Regions from separate parts of the Homo sapiens genome. Here all the other regions are linked to region 3. The links are contacts of gene promoters, found by promoter capture Hi-C in human tissues and cell types (Jung and others, 2019). All regions are on one chromosome and are shown on one strand. Each heading gives the region's core, a stretch centred on a gene start or on the middle of the fragment in contact. The rest is flanking DNA. Distances are from core to core; before and after follow the strand shown. Region 1 holds the start of CYP4F12 (cytochrome P450 family 4 subfamily F member 12). Region 2 overlaps LOC124900418 (collagen alpha-1(I) chain-like). Region 3 holds the start of CIB3 (calcium and integrin binding family member 3). Region 4 has its middle 26 kb from the start of UCA1. Region 5 holds the start of OR10H1 (olfactory receptor family 10 subfamily H member 1).

Region 1 (3,075 bases), core at 110-2,609, 500 kb after region 3:
GAATGAGAGGAATGCGCGAGTGAGGAGAGGAATGAGTGAGTGAGGAGAGGAATGAGTGAGTGGGTAGAGGAATGAGTGAGTGAGGAGAGGAATGAGTGAGTGGGTAGAGGAATGAGTGAGTGAGGAGAGGAATGAGTGAGGAGGGGAATGAGTGAGTGAGGAGAGGAATGAGTGAGTGAGGAGGGCAATGTGTGAGTGGGTAGAGGAGTGAGTGAGTGGGTAGAGGATTGAGTGAGTGGGTAGAGGAGTGAGTGAGTGGGTAGAGGAATGAGTGAGTGAGGAGAGGAATGAGTGAGTGAGGAGAGGAATGAGTGAGTGAGGAGAGGAGTGAGTGAGTGAGGAAAGGAGTGAGTGAGTGGGTAGAGGAATGAGTGAGTGAGGAGAGGAATGAGTGAGTGAGGAGAGGAGTGAGTGAGTGGGTAGAGGAGTGAGTGAGTGGGTAGAGGAGTGAGTGGGTAGAGGAATGAGTGAGTGGGTAGAGGAATGAGTGAGTGGGTAGAGGAGTGAGTGAGTGGGTAGAGGAGTGAGTGAGTGGGTAGAGGAGTGAGTGGGTAGAGGAATGAGTGAGTTAGCAGAGGAATGAGTGAGCCATCTCTCTTGCTTCTCTGGGGTCGCAGACCCCAGCCACCATCAATACCTAGCTCACTGAGCCCCATTCCTGCTCCTCTGGAAGTCCATCCACCCTGAGACCCCAGACACATTTTGCTGTCACACTCACCAGGCCCAGGTGACCCCAAAACCAGTTCCGTTTTGGGGGCTGTGGGAAACACTGGAGCCGGCGGCAGTTGTTATAGAAGGCATAGGTCCAAGCCAGGATGCGGGCGAGTAGCCAGGAGCCCACAACCAGCAGCAGGAGTAGCCATGGGGACGTTGCCACCGGTCTGAGGCCCAGCCAGGGCAGGCTCAGCAGCGACATCCTGCAGGGCAGAGGGGATGCAGGGTGAGGACCTGAGGCCCAGGGAAGAGCTCCGGGGACAGTGTATAGGGGCGAAGTCAGGAACTGCTGGGGGCAGGGCAGGGAGGGCTCAGGGGTGAGTAAACGAGGGCTGAGATCTGAAGTCCAGAAAGTCCCAACCAAAACCAACAACTAAGTGGCCTCCAGTAACCTGGTAACCACACAGAAAGGGAAAGAGATGGGCCGATTAGAGTCCAGAAGGGCCCCACCTGAATCCTTGGGAGTTTGCTAGGAGTCCAGTTACCAGGAAACCCCCAGTTTCCCATGCCAGCATCTTGGAGCCACCCCAGCCTTAGGCAGTCCCCTCTTCATCCCAGGCCAGGACCTTCCAGCCCTGCCACCCCCAGCCTGGTACCTTCTGTCGGGAGCAGCTTGTCCCACACAACCTCTTCTCCTCTTCTGCTGGGAGGTCTTTGGCCCTGGCCCCTGATCTAGGGAAGGCCGTAGGAGGCGGGGCTGGGCTGGGCTGGGCTGAGGCAGCCAATCCCCACAGCCTGGGTGTGTCTTCCGTGCCTGGGCAGCCAGCCAAAACCTGGGGTTGGGCCCACTGGGTGCAGCTCAGGGTGCCCCAGCACGAGCACTGAATTCTCAGGTCTCAGTACCTTCTTGGGAGTTTGCAGGGGAAGTTGGAGGGTGGTTAGAGGGGACTCTGAACCCCAAGTTTACCTCCACCCTGCCCTTCCAAGACAAGGGTGTTCAGATAAAAGCATATACTTATCATGACAGTTGGCAGCCAGCTGAGCTGGGCCAGGCCAACCCTTGTCCCAGATCATCTGGGCTCCTCTCCAAACATGGGCGGGGAGGATGTCAGGCACTACATCTTGGTGCAGACTTAGGAGATTCAGAGACAGAAGCCTCTCATCTCTGGCTTCACAGCCTGGCAAGAGTTCAAGTCCTGCCTCCTGGCAGCCCAGGGCCTGAGTTGAGGCCTGACTGCTTGAAGCAGGAAGAAAGAATCCAGCCCCAACCCCGCTGAGGATTACCTTCGTCAGATTCTGGGGATAAAGAGCCCAGCTGGAGGAGCAAACCTAGAAGCTGGGCTCAGCTTAGGAGGACAGAGCGGAGGCACAGGGGATGAGGCTGAGAGGGGCCTTGAGCTGACGGGGTCCAGGCAGGGGAGGGCAGAGCAAGGGGATCCCGAGTGGAGTCCTTGTTCTGCCCTGTCCTTTCTCTGACTGTGGGCAGTGTGGCCATCCTGGGCTCAGGCTTCCCATCTGGGAAATGGGATGTCAGATGAGGCCTTAGAGGGCGACGGAGGAAGGCTCCTAAGAAAAGGGAGCTCCAAAAAGAGGGACTGAAGGGAAGGGGATGACAACTAGCACTTGAGCTGCTGTGTGCCTGTCTCTACTCCATGCGAAAGACTGTACGGAAAGCACTACTGTGTGCACCTACTGTGTGCCAGTTTCACTATATAAAGTGCACTTACTGTGTATCAGATACTGTACATAAATTCTGTCTACTATGTGCCAGGTATGCCACATAAAGCTCACCTACTGTGTGCAGCATGCTGTACATAATGTAAGCTTACTTTATGCAGAGTACTTCATATAAAGCGTGCCTACTCTGTGCCATGTGCTGTATATAAAGCATACCTACTGTGTGTCAGGTGCTCCACATTGAGCATGTGTACTACGTACCTGGTGACCCACAGAAAGCGCACCTACTCTGCATCAAGTAATCTACATAAATCTTGTCTACTGTGTGCTGGCTATTCTACATATAGTGCACCTACTGTGTGCCAGGAGCTCCACATAAATACTGTCTACTGTATGCTGGGAGCCCTTCACAAATCCTGTATCTTGAGTCCCTGGCCCTTTATATAAACCATGCTTGCTGTGTGCCAGGTGCTCTAAATAAAGCACACCTACTGTGTGCCAGATGTTCCACATAAAATGCTTCTCCCGTGTGTTAGGTCCCCTACATAAAGTAAAACTACTCGGTGCAACATACTTGACATAAAGCACACATACTGTGTGCCAGGTACACTATATAAAGTGTGCCTTATTGTGTGCCAGATATGCTACATAAAGAGCACCTACTGTGTGCCAGGTATGCCGCATAAAGTGTACCTACTATGTGCTAGGTACGCCACATAAAGTACACCTACTGTGTGCCAGGTG
Region 2 (3,240 bases), core at 572-3,071, 340 kb after region 3:
TGTAGGTGGCGATGAGTTTTTAGGCCAAGGAAGGAATAATGTTTTATGTACCAAAGCCTTTTGTCCCCATTTTCCATCATACGAATAGTATTCCCTGTTGCTAAGCCGATGATACATTACCCTTTTCCCATAGGTGTGAGTGGCGGTCTGAATGGAGAAGTTCAATAGTTCTGATTGCAGATCCTATGCAGAAGAGATAATAAGGAAAATAATCTTTGTCTCCTGGATTAAGCTGAGGCTGGCAAAGAGTGAAATGTCCCAAGCCCTCTAACAACAAACAACATACTTTGTGTTGTCCTGGATGCTGGTCTGGTTGCCAAATATGTGGAACTGGCCCCATATGCGTGTACTGTTGTCCATTTCATGAGAGTAGGCTTGAGGACACCATGGGCAAGGATCTGATGGTTGCCAGCCTAAGCGTTTTAGACTTTTGACCCAGAGATTTTTTGTTTTGGGTGTGGAAAAAATTTTAGAGGATAGGGTCTCAAGATATAATCCTTTTTATAGGCGGCAGGTCTTAAGAGATGAGGGTCCAGAGGAACGGATGAAGCCTGCTTGGAAGCATGCTGGGATGGCCATTTGGAAGGAGTGTTGCAAGGAAGCATGGCCTTGGCTGGGCGCTGCCAGGAGCTTAAGGGTTGTAGGTTGTTTGTCTGATCGGCTCTCGGCCTAATCTTGTGGCTTCCAGGAGGAAGAGGAGAGATCAAGCTGGCTGTCTGATGGGCATGGCTTTATTCTGGAATGGTGAACCCAATGGAGAGGGTCCTGCAGATGGACGGCAGTTGGTGTGCTATAAATGACCGGGTAGGGTCTGGTCCATTGAGGCTGTAGAGTTTGAGGGGTCAGACTTTTGACAAGGACTGATCGTCCAGCTAGGGTGTCTTCATATGGCTGGGAATCTGGAGTAGGCAAGAGAAGATTAGCAGCTTGGCAAATTTCCTGTCTAGCCTGCTAGAGGACTGGAAGATAGTTGCCCAGGGGGCTGGTGTCTGGAACAAGATTGTGGCTGAGTAAGAAGGTGCATCCATATAAAATTGAAATGGGTTGTACCCTGTGGCTTCTCAAGGACAGGCCCTAATTCTGAGGAGGGCAAGTGGTAAAAGTACTGTCCAGTCCTTTTTAAGTTGGAGGCTGAGCTTGGTGAGGTGTGTTTTTAAAAGACCATTCATCCGTTCTACCTTTCCTGAAGATTGAGGACGGTAGGGGGTATGAAGTTTCCACTGAATACCAAGAGCCTGAGAAACTGTGGAAGTAGGGAGGCCAAATTGGGGGATTATATCTGTCAGAAGGGAAGAAATGACTGTAGTAGCCTTTCAGAGCTAGTGGGAAAGGCCTCGACCCATCCGGTGAAGGTATTGGCCCAAACCAGGAGATATTTAAATTTACAGACACGCGGCATATGAATAAAGTCAATTTGCCAATCTTGTGTCGGAGGAAATCCATGAGCCTGATGCGTAGGAAAAGGAGGAGGCCTGAGAAGACCTCGGGGGTTGGTGGCATGGCAGACAGAGCATTGAGAGGTGATGGTTTTAAGGATGGATTTCCATGATGGGATGGAAATGAGGGGCTGTAGGAGGCCAGCCAGAGGCTTATATCCTATATGGAAATGGTCATGAAGGGAAGAGAGAGTAGACTGGGCTTGTGAGGCAGGAAGAACGAATTTTCCATGATCTAAGAACCACTTGCCCTGAGTTGGAAAAGACTGGTAGAGCAGGTTTTTTAGAAGAGGAGTAGGTGGGGGTGATAGAGAAGAAAGAAAAGTACTAGCCTTTTGGGGTGAGGGCTAGAATATTTGCAGGCGTGGAGGCATTTGCTGTTTCTTTTGCTGTCCTGTTGGCGTAGGCATTTCCTTTAGCAATAAGATCAGTTGGTTTCTGGTGTCCTTTACAATGAATGAACCCAGCTTTGGCCAGCAAGAGAGCAGCATTAAGGAGGGCCTTTATTAGAGAGGTATTGATAATGGAAGAGCCTTGTGTGGTGAGAAAACCTCTTTCAGTCCAAAGGGTAGCATGGTTGTGGAGGATGTGGAAAGCATATTAGGAGTCAATATAAATTTTAATGTGCATTCCTTTGGCGACAGAGAGTGCACAAGTTAAAGCAATCAGTTTGGCTTGTTGGGAAGTAGTGGAGGGAGGAAGTGCAGCAGCCTCAATAATAGAGGTATGGGACACGACAGCATAACCAGCTTTAGCTGGCGAGATTTGACTGGGTTTAGAGGAACTGCCATGAATAAACCAAGTGTGGTCTGGATTTGGGATTGGAAAAATAGAAATATGAGGAAAGGGGGAAGATGCTATGTGTATTAGGGAGATACAATCATGTTGGCCAGGACTTGTGTTGGGTGCTAAGTGAGAAGCTGGGTTGAAATCGGGCCCATGGGCAGTAGTTATTGTTGGGGTTTCAATAAAGAGTGAATAGAGCTGGAGATGTCGAGGGGCAGACAGCAAGTGTGAAAGGTGTGAGGAGGATATTAATGCTTGAAGGTTGTGAGAACTGTAGAGGGTAAGTGGAGCATAGCCTGTGATTTTGAGAGACTCTGGAAGTGTTAAAGCGGCAGCTGCCACCACATGTAGACATGAGGGCCAGCCTAGAATTGTGAGGTCAAGTTGTTTGGATAGAAAGGCTATAGGTCGTGGGCCTGGCTCCTGTGTGAGAACTCCAGCAGCACAGCCTTGTGTTTCAGCTGTGTGTAAGGAAAAAGGTTGGGACAAGTCAGGGAGTGCTAGTGTGGGAGCTGTTTCTAGGGCCTTTTTGAGAGAATGAAAGGAAGCATGGGGAAAGGACTTATGGTCTATGGGATCAGCTAAATTACCTTTAGTGAGTTTGTAAAGCAGTTTGGTTAGAATGGCAAAACCTTGGTACCCAGAGTCGGAAGTATCCAACAACGCCTAAGAAGGAAAGGAGTTGTTGTTTGGTGGTGGGGAATAGGGTCTGGGAGATTAACTGAACACAGTCTGCAGGAAGAGTGCGTGTATGTTGATGGAGGACTATGTCGAGATATGTAACACTAGGGGAGGAAATATGAGCTTTAGAGGGGGATACTCAGTACCCCTTTGAGTAGAGATATTGAAGAAGTAGGATAGGATAGTGTCCTGCTGGGAAGATTGGTAAGAAGGGCTGCAAAGAAGAAGGTCTTCAACATATTGAATAAGGTGGGAGGCAGATGGGCAGAAAGAAAGTCATGAGAGAGGGCCTGACCAAAGTAGTGTGGGCTGTCCCTGAAACTTTGGGGTCGGACAA
Region 3 (3,113 bases), core at 487-2,986:
AGGATGCTTGATGAGGCCGAGGCAGGAAAGCCTGCTGGGAAACATTGCAATAGTCCAGGCCAGGTAGAGAAAACACAGGTGAGACCCAAAGTGAGAAGGGCATGGAGGGCCAGGCTAAGAAATTTAGACTCTCAGATTCTCCACCCAAGAGGATTCTGGGCCTTAATAAAGTTGGTAGCTGCTACATTAGATCTGCCCTTTGGGCCGGGCGAGGTGGCTCACACATGTAATTCCAGCACTTTGGGAGGCCGAGGCGGGTGGATCACCTGAGGTCAGGAGTTCGAGACCAGCCTGGCCAACATAGTGAAACTCTGTCTCTACTAAAAATACAAAACTTAGCCAGGCGTGGTGGTGGGCGCCTGTAATAATCCCAGCTACTCGGGAGGCTGAGGCAGGAGAATGGCCTGAACTCGGGAGGTGGAGCTTGCAGTGAGCCGAGATCACGCCACTGCACCCTAGACTGGGTGACAGAGCGAGACTCCGTCTCAAAAAAAAAAAATACAAAAAAAATTAGCTTGGCATGGTGGACACCTGTGGTCCCAGCTACCTGGGATGCTGAGGCAGGAGAATCACTTGAACCTGGGAGGCAGAGATTGCAGTGAACCGAGATCACACCACTGCACTCCAGCCTGGGCAACAGAGTGAGACTGTCTCAAAAAAATAAAATGTAATAAAATAATAATGTCAATGCACACCCCAGAACTTCATCTAGCTTGTTCACCATTATGTTCCCAATGCAGTGATGCAATCATGGCTCACTGCAGCCTCAAACTCCTGGGCTCAAGCAATCCTCCCACCTCAGCCTCCTGAGTAGCTGGGACCACAGGCATGCACCACCACATCCAGCTAATTTTTGTATTTTTAGTAGAGATAGGGCCTTGCCATGCTGCCCAAGCTGATCTTGAACTCCTGGCCTCAAGTGAATCTCATGCTTTGTCCTCCTAAAGTGCTGGGATTACAGGTATGAGCCACCTCGCCCAGCCAAAACCTTTTTTTTTTTTTTGGAGATGGAGTCTTACTCTGTCACCCAGTCTGGAGTGCAATGGCGGGATCTCGGCTCACTGCAACCTCCACCTCCTGGGTTCAAGCAATTCTCCTGCCTCAGTCTCTGGAGTAGCTGGGATTACAGGCATGTGTCACAATGCCAAGCTAATTTTTGTATTTTTAGTAGAGATGGGGTTTTGCCGTGTTGGCCAGGCTGGTCTTGAACTCCTGACCTCAGGTGATCCGCCTGCCTGGCCCTCCCAAAGTGCTGGGATTACAGGTGTGAGCCACCTTGCCCAGTCAAAACCTTTTTTTTTTTTTTTTAAATCTCAGATCCTGAGAATGACCCTATGAGGTAGGTATAATGTAATTTTCATCTCATGAATGAGGTTCAGAGAAGTCAGGTGACTTGCCCAGGGCCACACAGCTAGTGGGCAGAGAGCTGGGATTTGAGCTGCAGTGTGCCCATAGCCCTTCTGTATACCCTGCCTGTCTCTTGAGTGTGCCCCATAACCCCAGCCTCACCTTGTGGTGGCAGATGTGGCCTCCCCACTGAGGTCTTCTCTGTGACATCCCACAGCCCTTATCCTTACCCATGGACACATTCAGGCTGTTGTCCAGAGAGCCTGGCTGTAATTTGAGTCTCATCAAGCAGGGGGTGATGGCGTAGGTGGGTGGGTGACAGCCAGGGCAGGGAGATTTGCCCAGACACTGGTACACAACAGCCTGGCAACCCGTGTGGCCCCGAGGAAGCTGGGAGCCTTTGGGGTGCATCCCCAAGTCTGGGCTGTGGTTCACACCATGGGCAACAAGCAGACAGTCTTCACACACGAGCAGCTGGAAGCGTATCAGGTAGAGGGGGGCAGGATGGGTCCTCAGTGGGTTTGACAACTTTGGTTCCGTGGTCTGGGAAATGGGAACAGAATGCCTTCATCTGGGTGTACCGTCCGCCTGGGTTCCTGGTTCTGCTCTGTGTGTGGCAGCATCAGGCCATCTGTGTGAGTGTGGGGTGGAGGGAGGAGGCCGTGGGAGGAGGCCCCAGAGGCAGGGTTCGGGTTAAGACAACACCTCTCTCCACAGGACTGCACATTTTTCACAAGGAAGGAGATCATGAGGTCAGTCCAGGGAGGAAGGGAGAGAAGATCTGGAAAAACAACTTTCTATTCATTGCTGGAGGATATTTGCAATTTGGTGTGTGTGTGTGTGTGTGTGTGTGTGTGTGTGTGTGTGTGTGTAAGTAGTCTTTCTTTCTTTCTTTCTCTTTTCTCTCTCTCTCTCCCTCCCTCCCTCCCTTCCTTCCTTCCTTCCTTCTTTTCTTTTTTTTTGAGACAGGGTCTGTCTCTATTGCCTGGGCTGGAGTGCAGTGGTGCAATCATGGCTCATTGCAGGCTCGATCTCCCAAGGTCAGGTGATCCTCCCACCTCAGCCTCTCGAGTAGCTAGGACCACTGGTGCGAGCCACCACATGTACCTCATTTTTGTATTTTTTTATAGAGATGGGGCTCTCACTATGTTGCCCAGGCTGGTCTTAAACCCTTGGGCTCAAGCGATCCCCCTGCCTCAGCCTCCCAAAGTGCTGGGATTACAGGTGTGAGCCACCATGCCCAACTGGTATTTCCAATTTGTTGGGACTCAAATGGGGAAGGGGGGCAGGTGTGGTCAGTGGACAGAGGCAGAGATGGAGAAGCTGACAAGTCACATCTTGTCATACTGTCCCAGTCTCTAGGCTGATGAGCTTGGGCTTTCTCCCAAGGGTGGCAGGGAGCTATGGAGCATGCATGAGCAGGGGAGAGACCATCAGCACGTTAGAAAGATTCTCCTGAGGCTGGGCGCGGTGGCTCATGCCTGTAATCCCAGCACTTTGGGAGGACAAGGTGGGTGGATCACCTGAGGTCAGGAGTTTAAGATCAGCCTGGCCAACATGGTGAAACCCCATCTCTGCTAATAATACAAAAATCAGCTGGGCGAGGTGGTGGGTGCCTGTAATCCCAGCTACTCAAGAGGCTGAGGCAGGAGAATTGCTTGAACCTGGGAGGTGGAGGTTGCAGTGAGCCGAGATCACGCCACTGTGCTCCAGCCTGGGTGACAGAGCTAGACTCTGCCTCAGAAAAACAAAATGAAAGATAAAGA
Region 4 (3,512 bases), core at 1,010-3,509, 320 kb after region 3:
AGACAGAGTCTCGCTCTGTTGCCCAGGCTGGAGTGCAGTGGCGCGATCTCGGCTCACTGCAACCTCCGCCTGCAGGGTTCACACCATTCTCCTGCCTCAGCTTCCCGAGTAGCTGGGACTACAGGCACCCGCCACCATACCTGGCTAAATGTTTTTTTGTATTTTTAGTAGAGACGGGGTTTCACTGTGTTAGCCAGGATGGTCTCGATTTCCTGACCTCGTGATCCACCCACCTCGGCCTCCCAAAGTGCTGGGATTGCAGGTGTGAGCCAACGTGCCCGGCCGTGAGAATATATTAAGAGCTGGGGATCTCCATTCTTTTGTTTGTGCTGATGGGGAAACTGAGGGGTGGCTGAATTGTTGGAGGCCATTGCAACGTGTATTACTTTCAATGGCAAAAACTGCGATTATTTTATTTTTTATTTCCATAGGTTTTGGGGGAACAGGTGGAATTCCTTGGAAGCTGAAATGATGGAGGCGGGGGTGTCCAGAGGGCGAGAGGAGTAAGATGCAGAGACACAGTTAGATGGGAAGACAGACAGAGGCAGGCAGGGAATTCACTGCCCTCGAATCCTGACTTTGAATCCCAGATCTACTATGTATTAGGTTGGTGCAAAAGTTATTGTGGTTTTACCACTATAGAAAACAGTGTGGAGATTCCTTAAAGAACTGAAAATAGGGCCGGACACGGTGGCTCACGCCTGTAATCCCAGCACTTTGGGAGGTGGAGGCAGGTGGATCACCTGAGGTCAGGTGGTACTTGGTTACATGAGTAGGTTATTTAGTGGTGATTTGTGAGATTTTGTGCACCCATCACCTGAGCAGTATACACTGAACCTAATTTTATCCCTCACCCCTTCCCACCCTTTACCCCCAAGTTCCCAAAGTCCATTGTGTCATTATTATGTCTTTGCATCCTCATAGCTTAGCTCCCACTTATGAGAGAACATACGATGTTTGGTTTTCCATTCCTGAGTTACTTCACTTAGAATAATGGTCTCCAATTCCATCCAGGTTGCTGCAAATGCCATTAATACATTCCTTTTTATGGCTGAGTAGCATTCCACTGTGTGTGCATATATACATACATATACACATATATACATATGTATGTATGTGTATATATACACACGTGTATATATGTATATGTGTATATATACACACGTGTATATATGTGTATATATATACACACATATTATATATGTATATATGTATATATACACACATGTATATATGTACACATACACACATATGTGTATGTGTATATATATCTCACAGTATACATATGTGTATATATTATATATGTGTGTATATATGTGTATATATATATCTCACAGTATATATATATCTCACAGTATATATCTATCTCACAGTTTCTTTATCCACTCATTGATTGATGGGCGTTTGGGCTGGTTCCATATTTTTGCAATAGTGAGTTGTGCTGCTATAAAAGTGCTTGTGCAAATATCTTTTTCGTATAATGACTTCTATTCCTCTGGGTAGATACCCAGTAGTGGGATTGGTAGATCAGATGGTAGTTCTATTTTTAGTTCTTTTTTTTCTTTTCTTTTCTTTTTGAGACAGAGTTTTGCTCTTGGTGCCCGGGCTGGAGTACAATGGTGTGATCTCGGCTCACCGCAACCTTCGCCTCCCAGCTTCAAGCAATTCTCCTGCTGCAGCCTCCCGAGTAGCTGAGATTACAGGCATGTGCCACCATGCCCAGCTAATTTTGTATTTTTAGTAGAGACGGGATTTCTCCATGTTGGTCAGGCTGGTCTCGAACTCCTGACCTCCGGTGATCCACCCGCCTTGGCTTCTCAAAGTGCTGGGATTACAGGCGTGAGCCACCGTGTCCGGCCCTATTTTCAGTTCTTTAAGGAATCTCCACACTGTTTTCTATAGTGGTAAAACCACGATAACTTTTGCACCAACCTAATACATAGTAGATCTGAGATTCAAAGTCAAGATTCAAGGGCAGTGAATTCCCTGCCTGCCTCTGTCTGCCTGCCCATCTAACTGTGATCTCTGCAACTTACTCCTCTCGCCCTCTGTACACCCCTGCCTCCATCCTTTCAGCTTCCAAGGAATTCCACCTCCCAAATGTAACTTCTTCCTTCCAGGACTTCCTGACATCAACTAACCAGGCGACATCCTGGATAGGCCTCTTCAAAGATGGCCAAGGAAGTGCCCACAGGTGGATGGATGGCTCAGCCCCCACCTACATGTGAGTATCTCCTTTGACACCAAAGATAGTCTCCCCTAAGAGGCAGGCATGGCTTTCAGGCAGTAAGTTATGACCACTGTAGGTGTTTCTCTTTCATTCATTCACAATGAAGTACCCGTAGTAGCTCCCAAACTGCCTGATATCCTTTCTGTTTTTTGTTTTTTTTAAGATGGAGTTTCACTCTTGTTGCCCAGGCTGGAGTGCAGTGGTGCGATCTTGGCTCGCTGCCACCTCTGCCTCCTGGGTTCAAGCGATTCTCCTGCCTCAGCTTTCTGAGTAGCTGGCATTACAGGCACCTGCCACCACACCCAGCTAATTTTTTGTATTTTTAGTAGAGACGGGGTTTCATCATGTTGGCCAGGCTGGTCTCAAACTCCTGACCTCAGGGGATTCGCCGGCCTCGGCCTCCCAAAGTGCTGGGATTACAGGCGTGAGCCACCGCGCACAGCCGACATCTTTTCTATTATCCTAGTTATAGTTATTTTGTTACTTGACAAGAGTGTTCCCAGTTTGGTGCTTGAGAAATTATGGGTTCAATGTCAAACTCTTTTTTTTTAAATTTAAATATACTTTATTGATAAAAAGTGCTAACAATCATCTGAGCCTTCAGAGAGAGTCATAATCTTTTTTAAATTTTATTTGAATTTTAATTTCTGGGGTACACGTGCAGGATATGCAGGTTGGTTACATAGGTAAATGTGTGCGATGATTGTTTGCTGCACCTATCAACTCATCACCTAGATATTAAACCCAGCATGCATTAGCTATTTTTCCTAATGCTCTCCCTCCCCCAACCCCACCTCCTGACAGGCCTCACTGTGTGTTGTTCCCCTCCCTGTGTCCATGTGTTCTCATTGTTTGGCTCCCACTTATAAGTGAGAACACGCTGTGTTTGGTTTTCTGTTCCTGCATTAGTTCACTGAAAATAATGGCTTCCAGCTCCATCTATATCCCTGTAAAGGACACGATCTCGTTCCTTTTTACGATTGCATAGTGTTCCATGGTGTATACGTACCACATTTTCTTTATCCAGTCTATCATGGATGGTCATTTGGGTTAATTCCATGTCTTAAATAGTGCTTCAATGAACACAGGCGTGCATGTATCCTTGTAACAGAATGATTTATACTCCTCTGGGCATATACCCAGTAATGGGATTGCTGGGTCAAATGATATTTCTGGTTCTAGATCTTTGAGGAATTCCACAATGGTTGAATTAATTTACATTCCCACCAACAGCGTAAAAGCATTCCCGTTTCTCTGCAACCTTGCCAGCACCTGTTGTCAA
Region 5 (3,389 bases), core at 885-3,384, 360 kb after region 3:
TACAAGATAATGTCTCAACCCAGTTAAGATGGCATTTATCCAGAAGACAGGCAATAAGGAATGCCTGGGAGGATGCTGAGAAAAGGGAACCCTCATGATTTTTTGGTGGGAAAGTAAATTAATACAACCACTATGGATAATAGTATGGCGGTTTCTCAGAAAACTAAACATAGAGCTATCATATGATCCAGAAATGCCACTACTTAAGTATATACTCCAAAGAAAAGAAATCAGTGTATCAAAGAGATATCATTTGTATGGAATTATCCATAAAATTAAAAGCCTAGCTCCTTTCACATAGCACATGTTTTCAACGTTCATCTCTACTGTGGCCTGGACTGGGATGTTATTCCTTTCTGTGGCTGAATAATAGCCATTATATGATTATACCACACTTTGTTTATCCATTTATTTATTAATAGACATTTGGATCTGCCATTGATAGACGTTTGGATCAGGCCATGTCCAGTGGCTCACACCTGCAATCCAAGCACTTTGGGAGGTCAAGGCAGGAGAATCGCTTAAGCCCAGGAGTTCCAAGAGCAGCCTGAGAAACAAAGTGAAATCCTACTCTCTACAGAAAAATTAAAAAATACCGTTTGGCTACTGTGAACAGTGCTGCTATGCACATTTGATGTCCAAGGATTTGTTTGAATCCTTTTCCATTCTTTTGGGTGTATACCTAGGAGTGAAATTGCTGAGTCCTTTGATAATTTCTATGTTAACTTTTTGATAAACTGTCAAACCATTTTGTGTGTTTTTAAAATGCAGATCTGATTCTCCCGTAGATATCTTTCCGTAACTTGGTTTTTCACTCAGCGTCTTAGAGTGAACTCTGTGTGAGTTTATGCAGACCAAAGTTTCTCAGTCTTGGCAATGTCGACATTTTTGTGTTGACAAAATGGCTGGAGTGCCGTGGCTACTCACAGGGGCAATCATAATGCATCGTTATATATAGTAGTATATAGTCCCATTTATATGAAATGTCTAGAATAGGTAAGTCCATAGAGCCAGAGCCAGAAAACAAATTGGTGGTTTTGAAGGACTGGGTGGGGTAGGGGAGTGGCTGCTAATGGGTATTAGGTGATGAAAACATTTTGGAACTAGACAGAGGCGGCGGCCACACAACATTGTGAATGCATTCAATCCCAGGGAATTGTATACTTTAAAGTGGTTGATTATTTTATGTGAATTTCACCTCAAAAGCAGAACGAAGCGAAAGCAACAATAATGCACAACAGAACTCTGATTTTATGGGTTTGCATTGTTTTCACATCCTACATGCTCATGAAGATCTGAAGGGATACCCATTAAATTCACCGTCACGATTGCCTGGCTGGCCATTGCATGGTTTGCTGCTTTGTATGTAGCATTTCAATTACATAATAAGAAGAAACAGGCCAGGCATGGTGGCTCACAGCTGTAATCCCAGCACTTTGAGAGGTCAAGGTGGGAGGATCCCTTGAGCCAAGGAGCTCAAGACCAGCCTGGGCAACAAAGCGAGACCCCATCTCTACAGAAAAATTAAAACTTAGCCCAGGTGTGGTGGCAAGCACCTTTACTCCCAGCTGCTCAGGAGGCTGAGGCAGGAGAATCATTTGAGCCTGGGAGGTTGAGGCTGCAGTGAGCCATAATCACACCACTGCACTCCAGCCTGGGCAACAGAGCTAGACCCTGTCTCAAAAAATAAAAATAAAAACAAATACGTGTGTGTGTGTTGGTTTTAAAAAATTATTTTAAAGGACATTTAGTTGGGCAAATGACCCAGTTGGAGAAGAATGAAGGTGACGGGGCATATCAAGGCAGCCTCTGCAGTCCCTGGGGGCAATGGCAGGGCTGCCCTCCTGTCAATTTCAACAGTCATGGGCCCAAACCCCAAATCTGTAGAGCACTAGACTCTGCTCAAGCTCTTGACAAGCTCAGGGAATTGACTCACCCCTGGCAGGCGGGGGGAATGGGAAAGTGAGGATACAGATTCCCTGAGGTTGCCTCCTCTCTGGCAGGGTCCCTGGGGTCCCAGCATCCCTGTAGCGGAGACAGAGACAGTAGGACCACAGCGAGGGAAGCCGGTGGGCAGGGAGTCAGGGAGGGATAAATAATCGCATTTGGGCTCAGTCAAGCCCCCGGCTCAGCTGGTGTGGCTGCTTGGTGCAGCCCACACCTGGTCAGCTCCCACCTGTGGAGAAACTCCAAACTAGAGCCTCCTACTGGGATGAAGCAGAAGCAGATGCCTGGAGTCCCAGGTGAGTCACCTCCCCTCTCAGCCACCTGACCAGGAGAGACCTGGGGAACCAGCACCTGCCAGGGACTCCAAGAAACCACCTGTTTATATTACTCCTTTAGCAATGTGAGTCTACAGGGCAGTGGGTGACAGGCAGAGGCCACTCACCACGTCTTAGTCAGTGTGCTGTTTGCTTAGCAGGACTTACCTTCTTCTATTTTTTTTTTTTTTTTTTTGAGACGGAATCTCGCTCTGTAGCCCAGGCTGGAGTGCAGTGGCGCAATCTCGGCTCACTGCAACCTCCGCCTGCCAGGTTCAAGCGATTCTTCTCCCTCAGCCTCCTGAGTAGCTGGGACTACAGGTGCGTGCCACCATGCCTGGCTAATTTTTTGTATTTTTAGTAGAGACAGGGGTTTCACCATGCTGGACAGGCTGGTCTTGAACTCCTGATCTCGTGATCCACCCGCCTCGGCTTCCCAAAGTACTGGGATTACAGGCATGAGCCATCGTGCCCAGCCAGGACTTGCCTTCTTTAGAGCTCCTGCTGCCTCATGAGGTAGGTCCCTTGGATGGGGGAGGTAACAGGTGCAGAGAGAAGACAGCCAATGCTCAATGTGACCCAAGGTGATGGTTTGATTTTAACCTCTCTTCTCGGTCTGTCCAGGCAAGAAGTCTACGGAAAAAGGATTGGGAAGAGGCGGAGAAAAGAGAGAAAGAGGATTCAGGGTTCAGAAGCTCCAGCCACCACCCCAGGGTGTAAAGAATCAGGGTGGGCCGGGTGCAGTGGCTCATGCCTGCAATCCCAGCACTTTGGGAGGCCAAGGTGGGAGGATCACTTGAGTCCAAGAGTTTGAGGCCAGCCTGGGCAGCATAGTGAGACCCTGTCTGTACAAAAAAATACAAAAATTGGCCAGGAATGGCAGGCACCTGTAGCTACTCCAGAGATTGAGGTGGGAGGATTGCTTGAGCCCAGGAAGTTAAGGCTGCAGTGAGCTGTGATTGTGCCTCTGCACTCCAGCCTGGGTGACAGAGGGATACCCTGTCTCTCTCTCTCTCTCTCTCTCTCTCTCTCTCTCTCTCTCTCTCTCTCTCTCTCACACACACACACACACACACACACACACACACACAAGGGAGGCGTCAATGGGAGCAGGTGGTGAGGGAATGG

The links. The method cuts DNA at HindIII sites, captures the fragments that hold promoters and counts their contacts. A contact is called where the count stands out against the background at its distance.
Region 1: a contact is called between the fragment with the promoter of CYP4F12 here and the fragment with the promoter of CIB3 in region 3, in 2 of the 25 tissues and cell types used here (small bowel and spleen).
Region 2: a fragment that was not itself captured here is called in contact with the fragment with the promoter of CIB3 in region 3 in 2 of the 25 tissues and cell types used here (dorsolateral prefrontal cortex and spleen).
Region 4: a contact is called between a fragment that was not itself captured here and the fragment with the promoter of CIB3 in region 3, in 2 of the 25 tissues and cell types used here (stomach and thymus).
Region 5: a contact is called between the fragment with the promoter of OR10H1 here and the fragment with the promoter of CIB3 in region 3, in 1 of the 25 tissues and cell types used here (stomach).

What each region holds. Positions count from the first base shown.
Region 1 is chr19:15,671,371-15,674,445 of GRCh38, reverse strand. CYP4F12 (cytochrome P450 family 4 subfamily F member 12) reads right to left here and starts at 1,359. Exons shown (of 13, transcript NM_023944.4): 1 at 1,311-1,359; 2 at 719-917. The coding sequence starts at 916. The HindIII fragment of the contact is 17,744 bases long and covers 1-3,075 here.
Region 2 is chr19:15,832,161-15,835,400 of GRCh38, reverse strand. It overlaps LOC124900418 (collagen alpha-1(I) chain-like), which reads right to left. Exons shown (of 3, transcript XM_047439793.1): 3 at 1-183. UCA1 (urothelial cancer associated 1) reads right to left here. Exons shown (of 3, transcript NR_015379.3): 3 at 1-899. Among named protein-coding and RNA genes, the nearest start is that of UCA1, 4.8 kb to the right of the region's middle. RefSeq lists an enhancer at 1-463. The HindIII fragment of the contact is 5,632 bases long and covers 1-3,240 here.
Region 3 is chr19:16,172,148-16,175,260 of GRCh38, reverse strand. CIB3 (calcium and integrin binding family member 3) reads left to right here and starts at 1,736. Exons shown (of 6, transcript NM_054113.4): 1 at 1,736-1,836; 2 at 2,065-2,099. The coding sequence starts at 1,786. The HindIII fragment of the contact is 31,728 bases long and covers 1-3,113 here.
Region 4 is chr19:15,853,445-15,856,956 of GRCh38, reverse strand. It overlaps the pseudogene CLEC4OP. Among named protein-coding and RNA genes, the nearest start is that of UCA1, 26 kb to the right of the region's middle. The HindIII fragment of the contact is 7,299 bases long and covers 1-3,512 here.
Region 5 is chr19:15,814,409-15,817,797 of GRCh38, reverse strand. OR10H1 (olfactory receptor family 10 subfamily H member 1) reads left to right here and starts at 2,134. Exons shown (of 4, transcript NM_013940.4): 1 at 2,134-2,243. The HindIII fragment of the contact is 22,557 bases long and covers 1-3,389 here.